Regions from separate parts of the Homo sapiens genome. Here regions 1, 2, 3, 4, 5 and 7 are each linked to region 6. The links are contacts of gene promoters, found by promoter capture Hi-C in blood cells and fetal thymus (Javierre and others, 2016). All regions are on one chromosome and are shown on one strand. The core of a region is centred on a gene start or on the middle of the fragment in contact, and the rest is flanking DNA. Distances in the headings are between cores, read along the strand shown. Region 1 overlaps CELF1 (CUGBP Elav-like family member 1). Region 2 overlaps CELF1 (CUGBP Elav-like family member 1). Region 3 overlaps CELF1 (CUGBP Elav-like family member 1). Region 4 overlaps PTPRJ (protein tyrosine phosphatase receptor type J). Region 5 holds the start of SLC39A13 (solute carrier family 39 member 13). Region 6 holds the start of NUP160 (nucleoporin 160). Region 7 overlaps CELF1 (CUGBP Elav-like family member 1).

Region 1 (3,210 bases), core at 474-2,973, 310 kb before region 6:
TTGTTAGTAGAGACGGGTTTCACCATGTTGGCCAGGCTGGTGTCAAACTCCTGACCTCAGGTGATCCACCTCGGCCTCCCAAAGTGCTGGGATTACAGGCGTGAGCCACCATGCCCAGTGTACAATTGCTCTTTTATGATGAGAGAAAAACAATGTATAGCTTTAAAATGGGGAATCCACATAAAACTATCTTCCCTTTGAACTCCAGTACAGGGGCTTTTGCCAATTAAACAAGTCACCTCCACCTGAGGAAAGAGGCAGACGCTGCCTGCCCAGGATGCTGTAGAAGGGATTCCTTCCATGGATAGAAAGTTTCTCTGCATAACTTTTGTAAAGGTCCTTTGCTAACCTCAGAAACTGATTTCACTATGAAAAGTAGAGGAAAGGTGAATCCAATGTGTGGGTAGAAACAACAGAACAGTGCTGGGAAAATTCCTGCTTCTATCTCTATGTGAATTTAAGTAAGGCATTCCATGTCCCTCATTTTCAAAATGATAGGATTAAAGAAGAAAAAAATCTCTGAAGTTTCTAGCATTTTCAGCCTATAGCTTACTTTTTCTCCCTCCTATGCCAGCCTGGGCCACCCACCACCTTCCCACTGCTGCAGCACCTTACCATAATTAGGCAGCTTTTTAAAGCTTCTAATTAACGGAACACAGAAATTAAAACCTTTAAACTTTCTTTTCTATTTCTGGCTCACTGCAAATGTGCAACAGCATTTTATTAAGGAGTTGTTAATGCCACACAGTTCTTGCTATACTGGCTTTTCTCTGAACCCCAGTGACAGTTACACAGTGACAAGTTGTAAGCAAAGAGGTTGTTACCATGGGAACCCACTAGGATTCCTGGGGGTGGATCCAGAAGGCTTTTTTTTTTCTATCACAGTATTTTTTTTTTTTGATGTTCTGGATCTGGCAATTCAGAAAGCTGATCTTATTATTTCAGCAAGCTACCTTCAAGAAATAGTACCATACAGTATACATTTCTGAAGAAATATTAGACCAAGCGCAGTGACTCACGCCTGTAATACCAGCAATTTGGGAAGCTGAGGCGGGGGGATCACTTGAGGTCAGGAATTCAAGACTAGCCTGGCCAACATGGTGAAACCCCATTTCTACTAAAAATACAAAAATTGGCCGGGTATAGTGGCTCATGCCTATAATCCCAGCACTTTGGGAGGCCAAGGCAGGCAGATTGCCTGAGCTCAGGAGTTCACGACCAGCCTGGGCAACATGGTGAAACCCCCTCTCTACTAAAATACAAAAAATTAGCCAGGCATGGCAGTGTATGCCTGTAGTCCCAGCTACTCAGGAGGCTGAGGCAGGAGAACTGCTTAAACTCCGGAAGGCGGAAGTGGCAGTGAGCTGAGATCGCACCACCGCACTCCAGCCTGGGCTACAGAGCGAGACTCCATTTCAAAAAATAAATAAATACATACATACATACATACATAAATTAGCTGAGCATGGTGGCGGGCACTTGCAATCCCAGCTACTTGGGAGGCTAAGGCAGAAGCATCACTTGAACCTAAGAGGCAGGGGTTACAGTGAGCTGAGATTGCTCAAGTGCACTCCAGCCTGGGCAATAGAGCGAGACTCTCCCCCAAAAAAAAAAAAAAAAAAAAAAGGAATATTTATAACTATTTTAGTGACACTCTGTTGCACAATAGTTAAATATATTCAACTCTTAGTTTTTCCCCTCCCTCTTCATAAAAGCAGCTACATCAATATAAACTCAACTGAAGTTTCTATGACCTATGTATGCTGCTATTTCTTTCCAGACCACAACATAAGTTATATTTAGCATTTTTTCTTTCCTTTTTTTTTTTTTTTTTTTTTTGGACATAGAGTTTCACTCTTGTTGCCCAGGCTGAAGTACAGTGACACAATCTCTGCTCACTGCAACCTCCGCCTCCTTAGTTCAAACTACTCTCCTGCCTCAGCCTCCGAAGTAGCTGAGATTACAGGCGCCTGCCACCATGCCCGGCTAATATTTTGTATTTCTAGTAGAGATGGGGTTTCACCACATTGGCCAGGCTGGTCTCGAACTCCTGACCTCAGGTGATCCACCCGCCTTGGCCTCCCAAAGTGCTGGGATTACAGGCATGAGCCACGGCGCCTGGCCATATTTAGTATTTTTTCTATCAAGATTTCAATGTTTTCCAAAGTTCAAGAAATCTCAGCTTCTCTACACAATTATGTTAGAAATATATCAGACACAAAATTATAAAAATAAAGCTGGCCGGGCGCCATGGCTCATGCCTGTAATCCCAGCACTCTGGGAGGCCAAGGCAGACAGATCACAAGGTAAGGAGACCGAGACCATCCTGGCTAACATGGTGAAACCCTGTCTCTACTAAAAACATACAAAAAATTAGCCGGGCGTGGTGGTGGGCAACTGTAGTCCCAGCTACTCGGGAGGCTGAGGCAGGAGAATGGTGTGAACCCAGGAGGTGGAGCTTGCAGTATGCAGAGATCGCACCACTGCACTCCAGCCTAGGCGACAGAGCGAGACTCCATCTCAAAAATAAATAAAATAAAATAAAATAAGCCAAGAGAAGTATAAGTTCAATCTCCAAGTATGCCTCCAAAACTGTAGTGTGTAGATAAATGTGATGTTAAATTACGTTTAGGGAGATGAACTGCCACTCCCAGCTAAATGTGTGTTGTCACTCAGTTCCCTGGAGACCCATTCTGTTAGAAGATATCTTAAGAAAACAGATCATTTACAAGTCTGATCTGTGGATCTGTTTTTTTCAGAAGTGGAACAGTCAGAATTAGAAAAAAAAAAATTTTTTTCCCTAAGTTGGAAGCTTTCTGGAAAAGGGTTAAGTCTTTCCATAGATCTAGCTTAGCCCCAGAGCAAACTTATACCAGACAAATGAACATTAACAAAAACAGCACTTGATTTCACAGTAATAATCTAGAACTTCAGCTACCCTACGCCTGATCCATAATAGTTTGAGCCAGAAAAGTACCTGGCACAAATTTCAAGAGTATCCCTCACACTAATAACTACTGAAACCTAAATATAAATTCCATTTAAATGTGTTGAAAACCAAACTCAGAACCAATTCATACAACAAATTCACAAACCAAAAGAAAAAAAAAATGGTTCTATGGAGATAAGATATACCATTAACTACCGTAGGCAATAGTTATTAAGATACTCCACAAACATATTATGTCTTGGGCTGGGCGAGATGGCTCA
Region 2 (3,077 bases), core at 408-2,907, 330 kb before region 6:
ACCTTGTTTCAAAAAATAAAATAATTTAAAAAATCTCTTTTCCTATTTCCTCCCCAAATGCCCACACACTGGGTGTAACTCTCAAATCCCCCGTATTTCCTCTCTGCTCCCCAAACAGCTTCCTACTGTGGTGAGAGCTGGGAGGTGGGAGGAGGAATCTAATTCTTTCTATAGTTCCTGTTTCTTTACCATGGCAGTACTGTCAACAATGGACAACAAATTGCTGGATGCAGCAGTAGCAATTTACATATGGTAGCTAAGCTAATGCACAGCTTTCTCTGGGCAGAATTACTAACGCTTCTACCTATCATTGCAGTTTGAACCCAATGTTCCAGGCACACCAGTGTTAAGTATTTGCCTGGTGGCTTCTACCTTCAAAGGCACAGGGAATGATACACAGAAGTAATACACAGAAGTGAGGGAGGTGGAGGGAGTGGGAGCTCTGAACCCACCGAGGGAGGGTGCTCGCTCCAAGGACTGTGACACCAGACAAAGTACCTAATTCAAACCCAAAGGCTCAGTCATTCAACCTTTCCATAATATTCATGATCACTTGCTCAAATCTGGCATGTTCTAAGACCACAGTTCCTTCTTAGTTTCACTGCCCTGCCATGAGGCCAAATCTGTCTTATCTAGTGAGTCACTACTGCTCCTCTTTCCAACTGCATTTTGATTTCAGCCCACTTGTGCAGCTCATCAGGGCTGCACCATATGTTAGTACCATGTAGGCAGAATGTGACTAATTTTTTTCTCAAGCCCTGTCAGAGCGACTTTTAAAATCACCTTATAATCTTGATGTCTCTTGCGGAGTCATTATAACACATAACCTTTGGAAAGGACTATAATTATTTTTCTGAGTGCTCAAAGGAGATTCTTCAGCATTTTCATTCCCATTTTTCAGATGAAGGAACTAAAGGGAAGATAAGGGATTAAGAGACCTGGGTTCCACAACCAACCACTGGGACTTGGACTTTCTTGAGTCACAGTGCTGTATTTGGTAAAATAAGGCAGCTTGTAAAATGCCTTTTATTGGGAAACTCAAAATATTACTTTGCCTCTCTTTATTATTTACTTATTTATTTTTTTTTAGATAGAGTCTTGCTCTGTCACCCAGGCTAGAGGGTAGTGGTGCAATCTTGGCTCCCTGCAACCTCTGCCTCCCGGGTTCAACATGGTGAAACCCTATCTCTACTAAAAATACAAAAATTAGCTGGGCATGGTGGCAGGCGCCTGTAATCCCAGCTACTTGGGAGGCTACGGCAGGAAGAATTGCTTGAACCCAGGAGGTGAACTGAAATCATGTCACTGCACTCCAGCCTGGGTGACAGAGCAAGACTCTGTCTCAAAATAAAAAATAAAAATAAAAAGAGAGAGAGAAAAGGACTGAATGGCCCATGGACCACAAATGTTTTTTGAATTGGTCAAGATCATAATAAGTGAGTGAAAGTAATGCTCTAATACACTGAAAGTAAAATAGAGATGACTTGCAGATTTAGCTAGTATCACCAAATTCCCCCGAATTTAGTTTAAAAGGAAGGCGAGCAGCTGCTTCCACCTCCTCTAGGCAACCTGCCTCTTCTCCAACAATAATAGCAATAATGGTTGCTACAGCTGATAATTAAGCTCATCTCAAGAGGGTTTCTTAAATCTTCCGGGTATTGCAGATCCTATGTTTATTCTAGCAACTCTTTAGGGTAATTGCTTGACTGACATTGCAATTATTAGGCCTCCCCATCTCCATTAATAATATTCTCTTTTTTTTTTTTTGTTTGAGACAGAGTCTCGCTCTGTCGCCTAGGCTGGAGTGCAGTGGCATGATCTTGGCTCACTGCAATCTCTGCCTCCCAGTTGTAAGCAATTTTCCTGCCTCAGCCTCCCCAGTAGCTGGGACTACAGGCCCAAGCCACCAAGCCTGGCTAATTTTTATATTTTTTTAGTAGAGACAAGGTTTCATCATGTTGGCCAGGCTGGTTTTGAACTCCTGACCTCAGGTGATCCACTTGCCTCAGTGTCCCCAAGTGCTGGGATTACAGACATGAGCCACCACGCCCAGCTCACTAGTATTTTTCAATGGATAATATCACTTGCAAAATATAAAAAGGGATAGTATCTCATCAATATTGAAAACTGAGCTGAGCACAGTGGCTCACACTTATAATCTCAGCACTTTGGGAGGACTGCTTGAGCCCACAAGTTCCAGACCAGCCCAGGCAATATAGTGAGACTTATCTCTACAAAAAAATTCAAAAATTAGCTGGGTGTGGTGGCACGTGCCTGTAGTCCCAGTTACTTGGGAAGCTGAGGCGGGAGAATCACTTGAGCCCAGGAGGTCGGGCTGCAGTGAACTGTGATCATGCCACTGCACTCCAGCCTGGACAACTGAGAGAGAGCCTGTCTAAAAAAACAAACAGAGAAAAAAAAAAAAAAAAAAAGACATGCCCTTTGAATTCAGCAATCCCAGTTCTAGAAATATAGTTTACAAATAATCTTGTATCTGATGTATACAAAGTATGCAAAGGGGCATTCATAAGAACATTGTTTACATCAGCAAAACCTGAAAACATATGCCCATTAATTGAAGGCTATTAAATACAGTATAACCATACAACAGAACACTATGTAGCTATTAAAGAAAATAAGGCAGCTAACTGATCAAGACGTATTCATATAATAAGAAAGGAATTACACATGGCTTGTATATGAACAGAGTATCTCTGGATGGATAAAGAAATAACTGCTAACAGTAGTTGTAGAGGTGGAACAGTGGTTGAATTGTTTACATGTGAACACGTTACCTATTCTACAGAAATTTTTTTTTTTTTGAGACGAAGTTATGCTCTTGTTGCCCAGGCTAGAGTACAATGGCGCAATATTGGCTCACTGCAACCTCCGCCTCCCGGGTTCAAGCAATTCTACTGCCTCAGCCTCCCGAGCAGCTGGGATTACAGGCACCTGCCACCAAACCCAGCTACTTTTTTGTATTTTTAGTAGAGATGGGGTTTCACCATGTTGGCCAAGCTGGTCTCGAACTCCTGACCTTAGGTGATCGACCTGAAGTGCTAGGATTACAGGCACGA
Region 3 (2,791 bases), core at 50-2,549, 370 kb before region 6:
TCTTGTCAAATGTGTCAGACCCGATAAGGTCAGTGTCTGTTGCTTCATCTAAAAACTGCAGCCCCATCCCAAGAGGGCACACAGAGGTTCTGATTTGAGCCACATCCAGAAAACATTTAAAAAGCAGATCACACTTCACAGGGTTTCTCAGTCTACACTTGACACTGTCAAAGAAAAACAATGGTCTGACGACCTAACTGGTTCCCTCAGCCTTTGCTCTGCCTTTCCGTTCTGGTATAGGAGGAAAACCGCCCCCCATACCTGACCCCGATCTCCCTTTGCACTCACCTTCCTTCTGGCTTCCAGCAGCACCAATACTCTGCTGTGTCAGAAGATTCTGGTTGTACAGAGTGGGGAGCGCAGCAGCAGCATATTGCTGGATACCCGAGTAGGCCTGAGTGAGGGCCTCCATGGTGCTCCCGGTGCCATTGGAAAGGCCACTGCTGCCCAGGCCACCATTTAAAGCAGCCATTCCTTGGTTGGAGGAAGAGAAGGATTAATATACTAGAAAGACTAAACTGATGCCAAAGACAAGTCTACTTGGGACATCTAGAAGAGGGAAAACTCCAAAGTTCTCCCCTTTATCTCCCTCTTAGTTTCTCCCTGAGAAGAAACTATCTGACTGGCTAGATTTCAGGACATTCACCAGGCCTTGCTAATGGGGACATTAAGAAATGCCATACGCGGGTGTTGTGCTCCCCATTACCTTCATCCAATCTGTGGAATGAGAGCCTCCATTTTCTATCTGGCTATTCTGCCACTTTCTCATAATGAGCTAGAATGTCATAAAAGAAGAGGCCCAAGACTGCAAACTCAAAGGGGTACATGTGATTTCTGACAAGATGTGGGTGAACCCTACCATTAAAACAGCAACTAACAGGTACTAAGTACATTCTATGTGTCATCTACTGTACTATGCAATGTGCTCAGCAGCACTTTACCTATGTTCTAATTTTTTTTTTTTTTTTTGGAGACAGAGTCTCACTCTGTCACCTAGGTTGGAGTTCAGTGGTACAATCATAGCTCACTGCAGCCTCAAGCTCCCAGGCTCAAGCAATCCTCCCGGCCTCAGCCTCCCAAGTAGCTGGGACTACAGGCATGCACCACTACACCCAGATAATTTTTGTAGAGATGGAGTTCTCACTATGTTGCTCAGGCTGGTCTGGAACTTGTGACCTAGGGTGATCCCCTGCTTTGGCCTCCCAAACTGCTGGGACTATAGGTATGAGCCACTGTACCTGGCCTCATTTAATTTTTAACAATCCTTCAAAGTATTCTATTATTCCCACTTCAAAGATGAGAAAATGTCCTTAGAAAGGTGGTCCGAAGTTATAGCTAGCTAACGGACACAGGTGGGATTTAACTCAGGTCTGATTTAAAAATCCCATGCTTTTTTGAGACGGACTCTCGCTCTGTCACCCAGGCTGGAGTGCAGTGGCGCAATCTTGGCTCACTGCAACTTCTGCCTCCCCGGTTCATGCCATTCTCCTGCCTCAGCCTCCCAAGTAGCTAGGACTACAGGCGCCCGCCACCAGGCCCAGCTAATTTTTTTGTATTTTTAGGGGAGACGGGGTTTCACCGTGTTAGCCAGAATGGTCTCGATCTCCTGACCTCGTGATTCGCCCACCTTGACCTCCCAAAGTGCTGGGATTAGAGGTGTGAGCCACCACACCTGGCCCTCATGATTATTTTTAACTTCACTGGGCCACTGCAATCATTCCAGTGGTGCCCCTACCAGGGTTAAGATGTGCTACCTGCACAAAGAATAGTCTGATGACAGCCAGGTGCTGCCCCTTACCTGCCAAAGAGCCAACATTGAGGCCAGCCGTTGCTCCAGCTAATGTCTGCAGGGCTCCAAGTGAGGCTATGGGGTTGACAGAATTACTGCTGCTAGAGCTAGGTGAGGACCCTGCTATTAGAAAGCAAGGAGTTAAAATTCAACCCATCACTGGCATTCTCGCCAAATACAAGAAAAAGTGTCACTATCCAAGTATGCTATTTGTAAAGAGGTTTTCAGTTACTAATTCTAACAACTGTCCTTGCAGGACAGAGACAAATAATGGCCACAGCACATTGAAAATCAGGAAGATTTCTCTTAAGTACAAAAGATGACATTTGAAAATTTGTTGCTCATAATCTGACCTCTCTGGAAACAGGTGTTAACTATTTTCCCTCTCTGGACTCTGCCTTTAAACACAAAGCATCTGTCCAAGGCACATAATGGCACACTGGGTCATCCTCATGCTTACCTGAACTAGTGAGCACGCTGAGGGGACTGCTGGATGTAGTGAGAGCATTGGTACCACTTGGTGTGTTCTGAGCTGCACTAGCTGCAGCAGCTAGTGCAGCCAAATTCTGTAACTGCATTGCATTCAACCCTACAACATCCAAAGCAAGAGATTAGCCAGCAGATAAGGGTGCTTCATATCCATTCCAGCAATGACAAGCACACACTGGCAGAGGGCTGGTCCCTGACAAAGAGGAACTGTTCTAGATAAGCCTTACAAACAACATTACAGGGCTCCAAAAATGATTCATGTATCACTCATTAAGAAACTTGAAATCATTTCCTCAGAGAAGAGATGGCTAATCCAATAGCATACCATGCCAAGTGTACATTAATAAAGGTGTGGGCAATTAGGAAACCAAGAAAAACTGCCTACCATAGGGCCAGGAGCACAGGAGAACAATGCCAAAACCTACAGCACAGAATGGGACTGCATCCAGGCCCCTCACTCACACTTTACAGGGGATTCGCTCTCTGTAATAGAGGGGAACACGCAGAAAACAT
Region 4 (3,209 bases), core at 678-3,177, 320 kb after region 6:
CTAAAGCCTTGTTTTGTTCCTGGCTCTGATCCAGGACACCACATGGCATTTAGTACCATGTTATTTTTTAATTATACAAAATGCCTGAATACATTTTCCTTTAGAAAATCGAGAAATTACAAACAGAGCTAAAGATTTCCTTTGACTACCACCCCTAACCTGAGCCCCTTTGCCCCTCCACGAAGATAATACTAAGTATAACCCTCCTCACTTCTCCCTCTTCCTCTCCCCCTCCTTCTCCCCTTGCCCGCTCCCACTCCCTTTCCTCTCCCTCCTCCCTCTCCCTCCTCCCTCTCCCTCCCTTTTTCTTCCTCTTCCCCCACCTCCATCTCTCACAGCTGGTTTCTGTCTTTGGATCAGTACTTCTGGTTAAATGTGTGAATGTTAACTTTATCTGTGATGAGGTCTTCTAGCACCTCTCCCTTCACTCTGTCTGTTTTTCCTGTTTTCCAAATTTTGAATACTGCACATTCTTATCATGAATATACATTTCAAAAAATGAGTGTCAAAGGGCAGCTGTCATAATGGAGATGGAAATGCCTGCAGTGCAGATGTAGGTCACATGGGTACGGATGTAGGTCACATGGGTATGGTCATTCCCTGGTATGGGCATAACGAGTACAGCTGAGTCAGGGACAGGACTCGCCCCAGCTGGGGTGGGCTTCTGGTGCTTCAAGGTATATGCTTTGGTATGAGGTAGGGAACCAGTCTGTGTAATAATGAGCTCTATTGTCTTTCAGATGTTGAAATGGATGGTTTTTTGGGGGAGTCCTTTCTCAGCTCTCTCCAATTCTAAATATTTGCATGGTGCTTGCTAGTGGCCTGTCACTTTATTCACTTCTCTAGGGGACATAGTGAATTATGAGGCCATTCTTGCCTAGAAGGCACTGATTATCATGGTGTATTTGAGTAAATTATTTTTGGTTTTATTGTCAGTGACATTCCCAGGGGGGCTCGGGGATGGGGCTCATGCAGCTCTAAGGAGGTGCAGGTGTAAGAATGTGAGTTCATTATTGATAGGCAGCTGTGGCAGGAAGGGAAGGATCTGAATGCAGAATTGGAGGATGAGGGACTTCTGTTGCATCTGAAATCAGTGTTGGGGAAATGACTTCACTTCTGTGAATCTCTGCTGCCTCATCTTTAAAGGGGGATAATAAACTCTCCTTCTTGAGCATATTGTGAGGGTTTGATGAGCAAGCACTTTATCAGCTGCTGTGCAAATGTAAAGTTTAATTTTTAGTCATTACAACTCCTGGTTAGTACTCAGGCTCTGCTTGATTTCCCCTGCCTTTTTGATGTTGTTAGGCAGCCTTTCTGTCTGGATCTAAATCATTTTCTGGGCTTTTAGATCCAGACAAGTGAGAGTCACCCTCTGAGACAGTTCCATTTCACCTCCTGGCCAGACCACGGTGTTCCCGACACCACTGACCTGCTCATCAACTTCCGGTACCTCGTTCGTGACTACATGAAGCAGAGTCCTCCCGAATCGCCGATTCTGGTGCATTGCAGGTACGCAGATGGCACGTCACGTGTGACAGATTTCAAATGTCATTATATATTTATGAGCACTTTACAAAAGCAAAGCCTAAGAGGGAATGTAATAGGCATTTATGAATTCAGGAAAGGTTTGGATAAGGAACCATGGACTTACTCCCTAAGCCCTGAGCTTCCAAAACAGGGGTTGGCAAACTGTAACCCATGGATCAAATCTGGTCAGCTGCTGTTTTTGTAAATAACATTTTCTAGGAACACAGCATGCCCATTTATTTATATATTGTTTATGGTTGCTTTTCTGCTACAGTGACAGAAAGAGACCATATGGTTTGCAAAGCTTAAGATGTTAACTATCTGGCCCTTTACTGAAAAAGTTTGCCAACCCCTAACAATAAGAAGTTAGCTTTGAAGCTAAAGGAATTAATTTAGGACAGAAGACAGGAGGGGCTCTGTTGCCCAGTGGGGAAAAAATGGCTAAAATGTGCCGCCATCCTGGGTTATGGGCAACTTGAATGGAACTGAGATTGAAGAAGCTTGAGCAAAGGGTTATATGTGTGGCATCTGACTCAAATGTGAGTTTGGGACTTAGGCCCCAGTCCCAAGCTAGTGCTGTCTGACTTGCTGAGGCTTCAACTGAGCAAATGTGTACTGATCCTGTGCATTGCCCTCAAAGTGTGACAGTGAAGGAAAGCAAGATATATGTACAAATGAGGAACTCTAAGAGGGTTGCAGTCGAGGGAACCCACTGTAATAGGCTTATTTCTCTTTTCTCTCAGTGCTGGGGTCGGAAGGACGGGCACTTTCATTGCCATTGATCGTCTCATCTACCAGATAGAGAATGAGAACACCGTGGATGTGTATGGGATTGTGTATGACCTTCGAATGCATAGGCCTTTAATGGTGCAGACAGAGGTGAGGCCAAGATCTGTATTTGACATTCCACCCTTCCCCTCCATTTTTTTTTTTTTTTTTTTTTTTTTTGAGACGGAGTCTTGCTCTGTCGCCCAGGCTGGAGTGCAGTGGCATGATCTTGGCTCACTGCAACCTCTGCCTCCTGGGTTCAAGTGATTCTCCTGCCTCTGCCTCCCAAGTAGCTGGGATTACAGGCACGCACACCATGCCCAGCTAATTTTTGTAATTTTAGTAGAGACGGTGTTTCTCCATGTTGGCCAGGCTGGTCTCGAACTCCTGACCTCAAGTGATCTGCCTGCCTCAGTGTCCCGAAGTGCTGGGATTACAGGCATGAGCCACTTTGCCTGGCCCTTCCCCTCCATTTTTAAAAGGTTGCATTGTGTCATGCACTTGTGTTAAAATATGTCACCCTTCCAGATCTTTCCAGCTCTTGGCTGTGAACTAACACTGGATTTCTTTGCAGACTTTAAGCTGACTTGGAATTAAATTACCCAATACAAGTGACATAGTAGTACTGATGTCAGTAATGGAACTACTACTGAGATAGTGTCAGGATTCTTTACCTTGCTGCCTCTGACTCATTAAATAATCTTAGGACATCTTTGAACTTTGGCTTCCAGGTTTTAAACTCATAAAACTGGTATTTTCCAGTCTTTGTTTCTAAGAAGGTCTGACCATCTTTAAAATAAGCTAATGAAACAAACTCATCAAACATTAATGATGTGACATATCATAATGCTGCTTAAATGTTAATACAGCAATTTATCCTCACCCAGACTTGTACATTTTAAAGACTATCAATT
Region 5 (2,795 bases), core at 171-2,670, 440 kb before region 6:
TTTAGAAGTCCTAGGGCAGGATCCCTGAGTAGCTTTTCTTTGCCAAGAAACTAACCCAGGGATTCCATTTTGGAACTCAGGGAGGGAACAGAACGTCCTGGCAGTTGTATGGGCCCGGTGGGGTGAGATGGACAGAAAGCTTCAGAAGACAAGCTGGGCCACCAGGGAGAAGTTGGCGGTCTAAGGAAGGCCAACAGTGCAACATGAAGTGGGACAGGCACCAGAGGCAGCCCTGAGAGCTGAGTGTGCTCTCAAGAGCCCCAGCAGAGGGGAAAGTGACAGAGTAAATGGTTGGAGCTGCCATGGGAGGCTGATGAGGGTCAGAGACTTAAGAGACCTGTACTCAGTCGCTATCTCTGCCCAAGTGAGTACCCACATGCCCCTTCCTGAATCTTCTCCTGTACTGGCTGATTTCCAGAGAAGAATACAAACTCGAAACGCCAAGCCAGACTCCCACTGCTGTTCAGGACCTAGACGTGAGAAGTGGTATCACATACTCTGGCTTCAGGACACCCAGGTTTGAATCCTGGCTCTGCCATCTGTGCCACTGTGTGACCCTGGGCTAACAGTACCCACCACAATGGGATAATATGAGGATTCAGTGAGATAGTGCGAGTAAAGTGAATAGCACATAGTAGGTGGTCAGTAAATTGCGGTTATAAGAACTGCTATCCAGTGTTTGCTGCCTTAGTCTAACCAAAGAGGTCAGGTCTAGCTTCCTCCAGGTGAGGGAAGCACAGAGCCCTCGCCTCCCAGGTTTGGAGTTCCCATCAGCAGGGTCCAGCCACCATGCATTGGACCCCAAAGGGTTACAAGCCCTGGAGACAGTGGCCTGAGGTTCCCAGTGAAAAACCAAAGCATAAAAATAATTCGATGAGTAAGAATAAAATTCCCTCTTCTGAGGTTCCCGGGGCCAGGCCCCTCCCTGCGGCAGGCACTTCCCCTTTCCCTTGCTCATGGAGGAGCCAGGCCGGGCTGACTCAGAGCAGGAGCGCACAGTAGTCCTCCCAGCCCGACCTGGGCGGCGTGGTCTGGCGGCCGGGCGCGCCCCCGTGCGGCCACGGGCAGACTGCGGCCCTGGACGGGAAGCGGCGGCCAGATCCGCAAGCCCCGCAGCCTGGTCGATCGCGGTCCCCGCAGAGCCGCCGCTTCCGTCCCTGCCCAGCCTGGCTGAGCGCGGTGCGTGTGGCTCTCTCACTTCCGACCGACCCTCCCCTCCGGCCCGCAGCCCTGCCCAAACGGAAGTGCGCCCTCTACCCGGGTCCCCCACCGCCGCGAGGCGGAAGCGCCCTCCCGCCGCCACTCCCCCCGACCCCGCGGCACGCGGCGCCTCGGGTTCCGGACAGGCCCCTTGTGACGTGGCCGCGCGCCGGGGGCGGCCCCGGGCCGGGGGCCGGGCGGCCGGGCGGCCGGGCGGGGCAGAGCCTGGGCGGGGCGCGGCACCGCAGCTGGATGGCTGGGGCCGCCCGGATCGCCGCCGCCGCCGCCGCACGGTGAGTGCCAGCAGGACCCTCGGGGCCCGCGCCCCGGGCGTGATGGACCCGGCCGATCCCTCGCCCCGTCCGACTGGTCCTCATCAGACCTGGGCCGGCTCCCAGGACCCGGGAGTCAGGCTCGCCCGCTTCGGCCTCCTCTCCCCCATCGCTCCGCGCCCCACGCCCCATCCCTCCCTCGCTGTCCTCTCCGCGTCCCACCCGCCTCTCTCTAGCTCTCTCACTCTCTACTTTCCTCTCCCCTTGGACTCTCCGTGTATTCCCTCCCGCTAGCCTGTGGTCCCCTCACCTCTGCGTGACCGCCTCGTCCTGGCCCAGTCTTGCCTGTGGTCCCCAGTGGAGCCCCGCTGGCTTCATCAGTGCCCCTGATTAGTTAAGGCCTGGAGGTCCTAGACATGGGCATCTCTGCCACCACCCAGAGGCAGCTGCTTTCTTCCCCTCCCATCTCCATCAGAAGGTGAGGAAACTGAGGCAGGGACATCACCAGCTCAAGGTCACAGCCAGCCTGAGGCAGAGCAGACCACATTTAAACCTCATGCCCGAGTTTCCAGATGGAACTTCTCGCTTGGTTGACTCACGTCCACATCCTGTGATCGGCCGGCTGGGCACATTCCTGCTGCAGGGAGCCCCAGGCCTTCCCTGGCACAGGCAGGGCCTCTGCGCCTCCTCATGCCGGGTACATCCACCTGCACTTTCAGGCTTATCTCGTCCTCACAGCTGAGGCAGGTGATATTGATCCCTGTCCTGCAGATGAGGGCACTGAGGCTCAGAGGGGGGGCTTCAGAGATTTGCCCAGAGTTAGACAGCTCAAAGTGCAGCATAGAATTCACCGTGGGGGCTCTAAAGCCTGCGCTATACAAGAGAGAGGCATCCCCTGGCTAAAGGCTCCTTCCTCATCAGCCCCATCTCCTGTTGCCCTCAGTGCCCTGGGGACATTGGTCTCATGTCCTAGGAAGAAGCGTGGATGGTCTTGCCCTGGCTCATCTGCTCAGTTTCCCCACGTATGTCTCTCTGAATCCACCCCATCCCCTTAGAAGGGGTGCCTCAGTCTCTGGGGTGTCGCGGGCGGCAGGGCCTCCCCTGGCAGCCAGAGACACCCAGCTGGGCCGGGCCGTGCCGCCGGTGGCTGAGGAGAGCCAGCCAGCGCCTCACCCTGTCATTAGGGAAAGTTTAGCCTCAGGCGGAGGTGCTGACACAGTCTGGAGCTGCTCAGAAGGAAAAAATACGCAGTGCTCAGGAGTAGGGTGTGGAGACACAGGGCCCCATTGCTGTGCACCCAGCATTTGGATGCTCAGACGCTCT
Region 6 (3,192 bases), core at 487-2,986:
TTTCTATTTCTAGTCATTCCCACAATTGAGCCACCAGCAACCCTTACTTGGGCCATGATAAAAGCAAAATTTTTTTTGTATTATACCCATCTAATCCAAATCCACTTTCCACAAAGTAGACTGAGATCTTCTAAAAATACATTTAAAAAAATTTAGATTCAGGGGTACATGTGCAGGTTTGTTACATGAGTATATTGTGTGTATATTCCTATATACATGAGGTTTGGGCTTCTGATGATCCTGCCGCCCAAGTTGTGAACACAGTATCCGATAGGTTTTCCAACCTTTGCTCCCCTCCCTCCCTCCTTTTGGAATCCCTAGTGTTAACTGTTCCCATCCAAAAATGCAATTTTGATGTTAGTAACTCTTTAAAAATCTTTCAATTATTACTCAATGTACTTAGGATAAAATCCAAAAATCCTTAAAAATGGCCTAAGGGTCCCTCATGGTCCGAGTCCTGCCTACCTCTCCAGCCTCAGTATCTCACATCACTTTCTGTTTTACCCACTGCACTTAAGCCACACAGATCTTTGGTCAGTTCCAAACCCGCCACATTCTTTCCACTTCATGACCTTTGCATATGGTGATCCTACTTGCTGGACTCCTCTCTGTCCACTCCCCATGCCTGGCTAACCTCGTGTCCTTTAGATCTCAGGGTAACTGTGAATTCCTTAAAGCCTTTCCCTGCCCCACTAATTATATTTGGTCCTCTTATTAGCCTCTCATAACCCGTATATTTTTCCTCTAGGGCAAGTTTTCCTCCAAAAAATTTCCCCATGAAAAGTGGGTCTACATCTATTCTGACATTGCTACAACGTCTTGCATGATGAAAATTGCAGTTTTGTTCATTTCGTCCTGGTACCTAGCACAATGCCTGACATATTGAAGCTCGAACGTATTTGTACAATGAAGGAAGCTGTAAAGCACTATAAAAACATAACGGGTTCATGTTTAAAATTGGTCTTATGGGCTTTATTCCCCTAAGCTACATTTCCTCTGCTTCTGGTGTTGCTTGGTGTATGTGTGTGTGGGGGTGGGGGGGGGGAGGGGGAGAGGTATCTCTTCTAGAACTCTGTGTCTCAGTTTTCCCGATTCTGATACGAACTGAAAAAACAATCTTTCTCTTTCCCTAAGTGTCAATTACCGCTTCTAGAATAGCACTTTGGGTACAGCGACGAAAATTTATACACCAAACCCTACCTTCCAGGGGAGTTTGGCGAACCACAACACTTACCAATGAATGAACCTGTTTCTGGTTACGGAGAACAACTTGCCACTCTCCACGTAGTAAAAGCCTCCCGCGCTTTCACTGTATTTTACGGCGCCAGCCACGGCATTTGCAGTCCCTGCAAAATGAACGTGGTCAGCCTGCACACGCGTCTTCTGAGAAATGACAGGGACTAAGGGAGCTGACAAAGCAGAGAGTGACAGACTGACAACCCATACAAAGAAAAGAGGAAAACGTCGGACATCAAGGAATCTCTGATCCCGGGGCTAGAGGCATGTGGACTCAGGAGGATGAAACAGGGCGTCAGGGACCCTGGGACCCATGAGAGGAGCCCGAGGGGACAGATGGGATCGCACCCTCCCTGGCCATTTCCGTACCAATGCTGCAGACTGTGAATTCCCGAAAGTGCCTCGGCCTTTCGCGCTCAGCTCCGCTTAGCTCCACGAAGCTCCGTTCCAGGGCTCCCGCCGCCGCCATCTTCCCGCCGTCGCCGCGACGCCCAACGGAACAAAGGCAGGGCCGCGCGGTCGCCGTCACTTCCGGGGGTGGGGCGGGCGGAGCTGCGGACAGGTGAAGCATTCCGGGAGCAGAAAGGCGGCTCCGGCCCTTCGTTGCGAGGCTTCCACCGGGAGAATGAGGGTGGGCAGCGAGGAATCCAGAAGAGAAGGGGGCAGGGGAGGCAGACTCTATCTGCGGGAACCTTCCAGTGGCCGGCTGGAACGCCTCCGGAGGGCGGTGCTCTTTTCTCAGCGGCCGCAGGGCAGGGGGCGGGGCCGGGTTTGTTTCTGTTTCTAAAACGCGGGGCTCAGTCGACCAGGAGGGGCGAGGTCCGGGGAGTCCCGGCCTTTCGGCGTCCTCTGCCGGATCCCGGGTTTATGGTCACCTCTCCCTCGGTTAGGGTGTCCGTCTGTAAATCTTTGGCGATCCTCCCTTCGCTCTTCAGTGGCGACACTTGGGATGGCGGGGTGAGGAAGGGGTAGTGAGGGAAAGGCCTTTGGTTTTGGTCTTTCCCCTCCCCAAGAGACTGTATTCGTGTATTCCTGTATAATGAAACGTAATGTGGTAAACCTTGGTGCTGCCACTTGCTGAGGTTACCTGAGTGCTACTCACTTGGATACGTGAAAGGAATTTGCCATTCCTTCCACCCGTGATCTTGCACTTGGCTGTCAATGCAGTAAGGGCCCATAGTGGGTGTTTAGAAGATATTGTGGGAGTAGATGTTCAAAATCGAGGAAAATGCTAATCTCCAGCGGGGAAGGTTTTGTTCCTTAGTGATAGCCAATAGAAGTTAAAGCACTTCTATTACCAGTGACCACAACCATTCCCTGTCATTCTCCGTTTCATTTATCTGGTTCCGACCATCATTTTCTATCTTTCCACTTCACTCCCTCTGGGACACCAACTTTGGCAGTGCAGTCCCCTCATTCTACCTGGAATCCATTGTTCTACAAAATCTTCACTGTCCCACACTTCTTTGGTGTTTCTTTCTTATCCTGAATACCATTAAATTACTTCATTGCCTAACTCTTCATCGGTAAAAACTACAACTTCGACTACATTCAAATCTGTAGCTGAACATGACTGGAGAAAACTATACACCCGGGTCGGGCGTGGCTCCCAGCATTTTGGGAGGCCAAGGCGTGAGGATCACTTGAGGTCAGGAGTCCGAGACCAGCCTGGCCAACATGGTGAAACCCGGTCTCTACCAAAAATAGAAAAATTAGCCGGGCGCGGTGGCTCACGCCTGTAATCCCAGCGCTCTGGGAGGCAGAGGTGGGTGGATCACGAGGTAAGGAGTTTCAGACCAACCTGGCCAACATGGTGAAACCCTGTCTCTATTAAAGATACAAAAAATTAGCCGGGCATGGTGGTGCACGCCTGTAATCCCAGCTACTCGGGAGGCTGAGGCAGGAGAATCGCTTGAACCTGGGAGGTGGAGGTTGCAGCGAGCCAAGATCGCGCCA
Region 7 (3,077 bases), core at 44-2,543, 350 kb before region 6:
GATCCGAAGAAAAGTCATGTTGCAACCAAAGTTATAAGGTAGTTAAGAGTAGAAAGGAGGTACATGTAGAGTGAGCAGTTATATATCCTGGAGTCAGAAAGATACACTTTCTAGGTCTTCTAGCTGCAGAGCTCCTGATTAGATTACAGTTCAGTCCACCTGTGTCCTTATAAGAAAGCCCTTTCATATATGCTAGCTTGAGTGGACATCTGTTCCTTGCAGCCAAACAAGACCTTCAAACGGGACCTGTTTAAAAATAATTCCTGAAACCTTTCATTATTTTTTCACTCCCCCTTTCTCATTACCTGTTGACTTCCCTTTAATTATACAAAAAGAAAAAATTCAGATACTTACCAATCCCTCCACCTCCCCAGCAGGCAAAAATACTTGTTGCATTCCAAACTTCTGCTACCACCCACCCTTATACAAGGTCCCTCTGGCTCACATACAGTGCTGTGGAAAAACTGGAACAGAAGTGCGTGAGAATAAAAAGGGCCCAGAAACACTGGCCTGAGTTACTTACCAGCTGCTCCCTAGTGAGAACAAGACAGAATAATACATTTATGCTGTGAGAAAGTTAATTTTCATTTGGATAAAGGTCAATCTTCCTATCATGTGGGGTGTTAGGTACTAGAAAAAGCTATCTCTAAGGACAATAAAGACAATAATAATTTAAAGTCACCATCCAACAACAGAATAGCTAACAATATGCTTTTAAAGGTTTTCAGCCTTCTTCCCTGAGGTATGGAGATAAGATCTGGAGATCTTATCTCTGCAATCATCTTTAATATCATTCATTCAACTGTAATTCCCAAGCTTTTGCTATGGTGCCAGATACTACACACTATAGGGCTCTGTAAGACTGAGCAATATGTGCCCTTGAGGCAATGTCACTGAAAAAGTAGAAGGGCACAACTATAATCCTCTACAAATCCTATAAAGGAATGTTTAAAAGTTCTATGAAAGAAGTGGCTAATATGATTTTACTTTATTTGGAGGAGGGGGAGGTGTGTGTGCAGAGATTTCAGCTGCATAGAGTAGGCAACTAGAAAAAGTGCTACGTGGCATGGAGGAAAGAGGCCTAAGGGTGATGAAGAAATGGTAAGGACTGAGGAGAGATGGGAAAAGTGGGATAACATCAGAAGGGAGAAAAAGGACTTGAGAAAGTTGTGGGCAGAGTACAGAAACAGAGAAGAGATCATACTAGAAAGCTGACTAAGAATAAAGAGGTAGGTCAGAGAGACCCAGTGAAGGGCTTTCCATGTTATAGACAGGTTTGGAGTTTATTCCAAGATTTTAGATTAAGTGAATGATCAGATCTGTCCTTTTAAAAGATACCTAAAAATAATCTGGAGGATGAAATAAGGCAGGGAACATGGAGATCAGAAGGCTCTTGCATAAACTAGTACCTAAGATTAGCACCCAGTCTCAGCCAATACTGAGGAATTTTGGGCCAGGATACACTAGGATCTGGAGTTCACTTGAACTCCAAGGAGGAGAGGAAGAGAAAGAAACTAACAACTCTTGGGTTCTAGTGAAGACAATATGGGAATTACTTTTTGTGGGGAAGTCTCTAGATGAAAAGTAATCAATGAGCAGTATTTAGAATAAAGTCTTAGACCTCAGAAGACATTTGGGGGAACAGAGATCTGAGAAGCAGAGAAGCACATCAGTGTCCCCTTAAGCAATGGGAGAATGAAAAGAAAAAAGTCTGGGACACAACTCATGAAAATATCCATATCTTAGGATGCAGGCAAAGTAGCACCAGTGGAAGCTTAAGAGTGATCAATGAAGAATCAAGAACATTGGCTAACCGTTCACTGACACTAGAGGCAGCCTGGTCTAGTGGGCAAAAATAAAAAGACCTTTACCTTTAAACTTGTACTTCAGGCCCAACACTGATTACTATTTGTCCTCAATCTCTCTCTCAACTGGGTTTCTCATGTTTAAAATCGGGGCAATGGCCTACGCCCAGGCACCCTTGCAAAGTTTTGGTGAAGATGGGTGACTAAAACAGATGCAAACGTACTTGGAAAAAATGTTGACAATCCATTCCCCGACTGACTCTGAGAATGACCTGTGTTAAGTCCACTAGCTCTCGAACTTTAGTGTGCACAAAAAAACATGCTGGACACTTGTTTCTAGAGTCTTGGGGGTCCTATTCTAGAATAAAAACATCTGAATTTTTAAGTTCCAGGTGACTTTCATGCAGTGGTCCATGGTCCAGATTTAATGGGATATTGAATGGGTCCAATCTCTTAAAAGATTAGAAAGCAGGCTGAGAAGAATGCTGTGTCAATGTTGGGTTGAACACCAGGCAGTGGCAAAGCACAGGAAGTATTACAATGAAAGACAATTTGAGCAACAGCCTTGTTTCTAAGGATCATAAATCCTGGGACATGGAAATATCCTTATTATGTATTAAATCTTTATCATGATATTCACTTTAATTTCACCTGTTACAGCTAAAATAAAATTTTAGTAGTAAAGAACTCTCATAAAAAGACATTTAAATTACCGTAATTTTGGAGACTACAGAGGAGGCATAAGATCCACTTCAAAAGAGTAAGACAGGCCAGGTGCCGAGGCAGCAGGATAGCTTGAGCCCAGGAGTTCAAGACCAGCCTGGGCAACACAGGGAGACCTCATATCTACAAAAAGTTTAAAAATTAGCCAGGTGGTGGTGCATGCCTGTGGTCCCAGCTACTTGGGAAGCGGAGGCGAGAGGACTGCTTGAGCCCAGGAGGTTGAGGCTACAGTGAACTGTGACTGTGCCACTGCACTCCAGCCTGGGCAACAAAGCAAGACCCTGTTTCAAAAACAGAGAGAGAAAGAGCTAACTTTGAGCCCTGCCCCCCAACTATTCCACAAAGAACTGTTTGGTATCTACTATTATCCACACCTGTTACATCTAATCCCAGGGTAGACTGATTTGCACATGGAGGCCTAACCTCAAAGACTTGCATTAACACTTGTTATCTAGAGAATATTCTACCATTTAATATTCTTGGCTTTGAATAACCTAAAGCTCATTTGCTGGAGGTTCCAAAATACTCTGAAGCCTGGTTACAGTGACT

Evidence for each region. The method cuts DNA at HindIII sites, captures the fragments that hold promoters and counts their contacts. A CHiCAGO score of 5 or more calls a contact.
Region 1: a contact is called between a fragment that was not itself captured here and the fragment with the promoter of NUP160 in region 6, in 2 of 17 cell types (erythroblasts and M2 macrophages). The highest score is 6.1, in erythroblasts.
Region 2: a contact is called between a fragment that was not itself captured here and the fragment with the promoter of NUP160 in region 6, in 1 of 17 cell types (naive B cells). The highest score is 5.5, in naive B cells.
Region 3: a contact is called between a fragment that was not itself captured here and the fragment with the promoter of NUP160 in region 6, in 3 of 17 cell types (naive B cells, erythroblasts and endothelial precursors). The highest score is 5.8, in naive B cells.
Region 4: a contact is called between a fragment that was not itself captured here and the fragment with the promoter of NUP160 in region 6, in 1 of 17 cell types (naive B cells). The highest score is 5.6, in naive B cells.
Region 5: the fragment with the promoter of SLC39A13 here is called in contact with the fragment with the promoter of NUP160 in region 6 in 1 of 17 cell types (activated CD4 T cells); the score reaches 5.2 in activated CD4 T cells.
Region 7: a contact is called between a fragment that was not itself captured here and the fragment with the promoter of NUP160 in region 6, in 4 of 17 cell types (erythroblasts, naive B cells, total B cells and 1 more). The highest score is 7.2, in erythroblasts.

What each region holds. Positions count from the first base shown.
Region 1 is chr11:47,532,206-47,535,415 of GRCh38, forward strand. All of the region lies in intron 1 of CELF1 (CUGBP Elav-like family member 1), which reads right to left. Among named protein-coding and RNA genes, the nearest start is that of CELF1, 19 kb to the right of the region's middle. The HindIII fragment of the contact is 2,174 bases long and covers 637-2,810 here.
Region 2 is chr11:47,514,848-47,517,924 of GRCh38, forward strand. The region is part of intron 1 of CELF1 (CUGBP Elav-like family member 1); the gene reads right to left. Among named protein-coding and RNA genes, the nearest start is that of CELF1, 37 kb to the right of the region's middle. The HindIII fragment of the contact is 4,290 bases long and covers 1-3,077 here.
Region 3 is chr11:47,475,048-47,477,838 of GRCh38, forward strand. It overlaps CELF1 (CUGBP Elav-like family member 1), which reads right to left. Exons shown (of 15, transcript NM_001376376.1): 11 at 2,250-2,378; 12 at 1,799-1,912; 13 at 289-474. Among named protein-coding and RNA genes, the nearest start is that of RAPSN, 27 kb to the left of the region's middle. The HindIII fragment of the contact is 4,253 bases long and covers 1-2,791 here.
Region 4 is chr11:48,162,110-48,165,318 of GRCh38, forward strand. It overlaps PTPRJ (protein tyrosine phosphatase receptor type J), which reads left to right. Exons shown (of 25, transcript NM_002843.4): 23 at 1,349-1,509; 24 at 2,271-2,406. Among named protein-coding and RNA genes, the nearest start is that of OR4B1, 53 kb to the right of the region's middle. The HindIII fragment of the contact is 196 bases long and covers 1,830-2,025 here.
Region 5 is chr11:47,407,170-47,409,964 of GRCh38, forward strand. It overlaps SLC39A13 (solute carrier family 39 member 13), which reads left to right and starts at 1,421. Exons shown (of 10, transcript NM_001128225.3): 1 at 1,421-1,493. It overlaps SLC39A13-AS1 (SLC39A13 antisense RNA 1), which reads right to left and starts at 2,113. Exons shown (of 4, transcript NR_182308.1): 1 at 1,783-2,113. RefSeq lists enhancers at 703-1,525, 1,814-2,680, 2,681-2,795 and a silencer at 934-1,723. The HindIII fragment of the contact is 27,134 bases long and covers 138-2,795 here.
Region 6 is chr11:47,846,614-47,849,805 of GRCh38, forward strand. NUP160 (nucleoporin 160) reads right to left here and starts at 1,737. Exons shown (of 36, transcript NM_015231.3): 1 at 1,606-1,737; 2 at 1,235-1,346. The coding sequence starts at 1,705. RefSeq lists an enhancer at 1,675-2,234. The HindIII fragment of the contact is 7,211 bases long and covers 1-3,192 here.
Region 7 is chr11:47,495,589-47,498,665 of GRCh38, forward strand. The region is part of intron 3 of CELF1 (CUGBP Elav-like family member 1); the gene reads right to left. Among named protein-coding and RNA genes, the nearest start is that of RAPSN, 48 kb to the left of the region's middle. The HindIII fragment of the contact is 958 bases long and covers 815-1,772 here.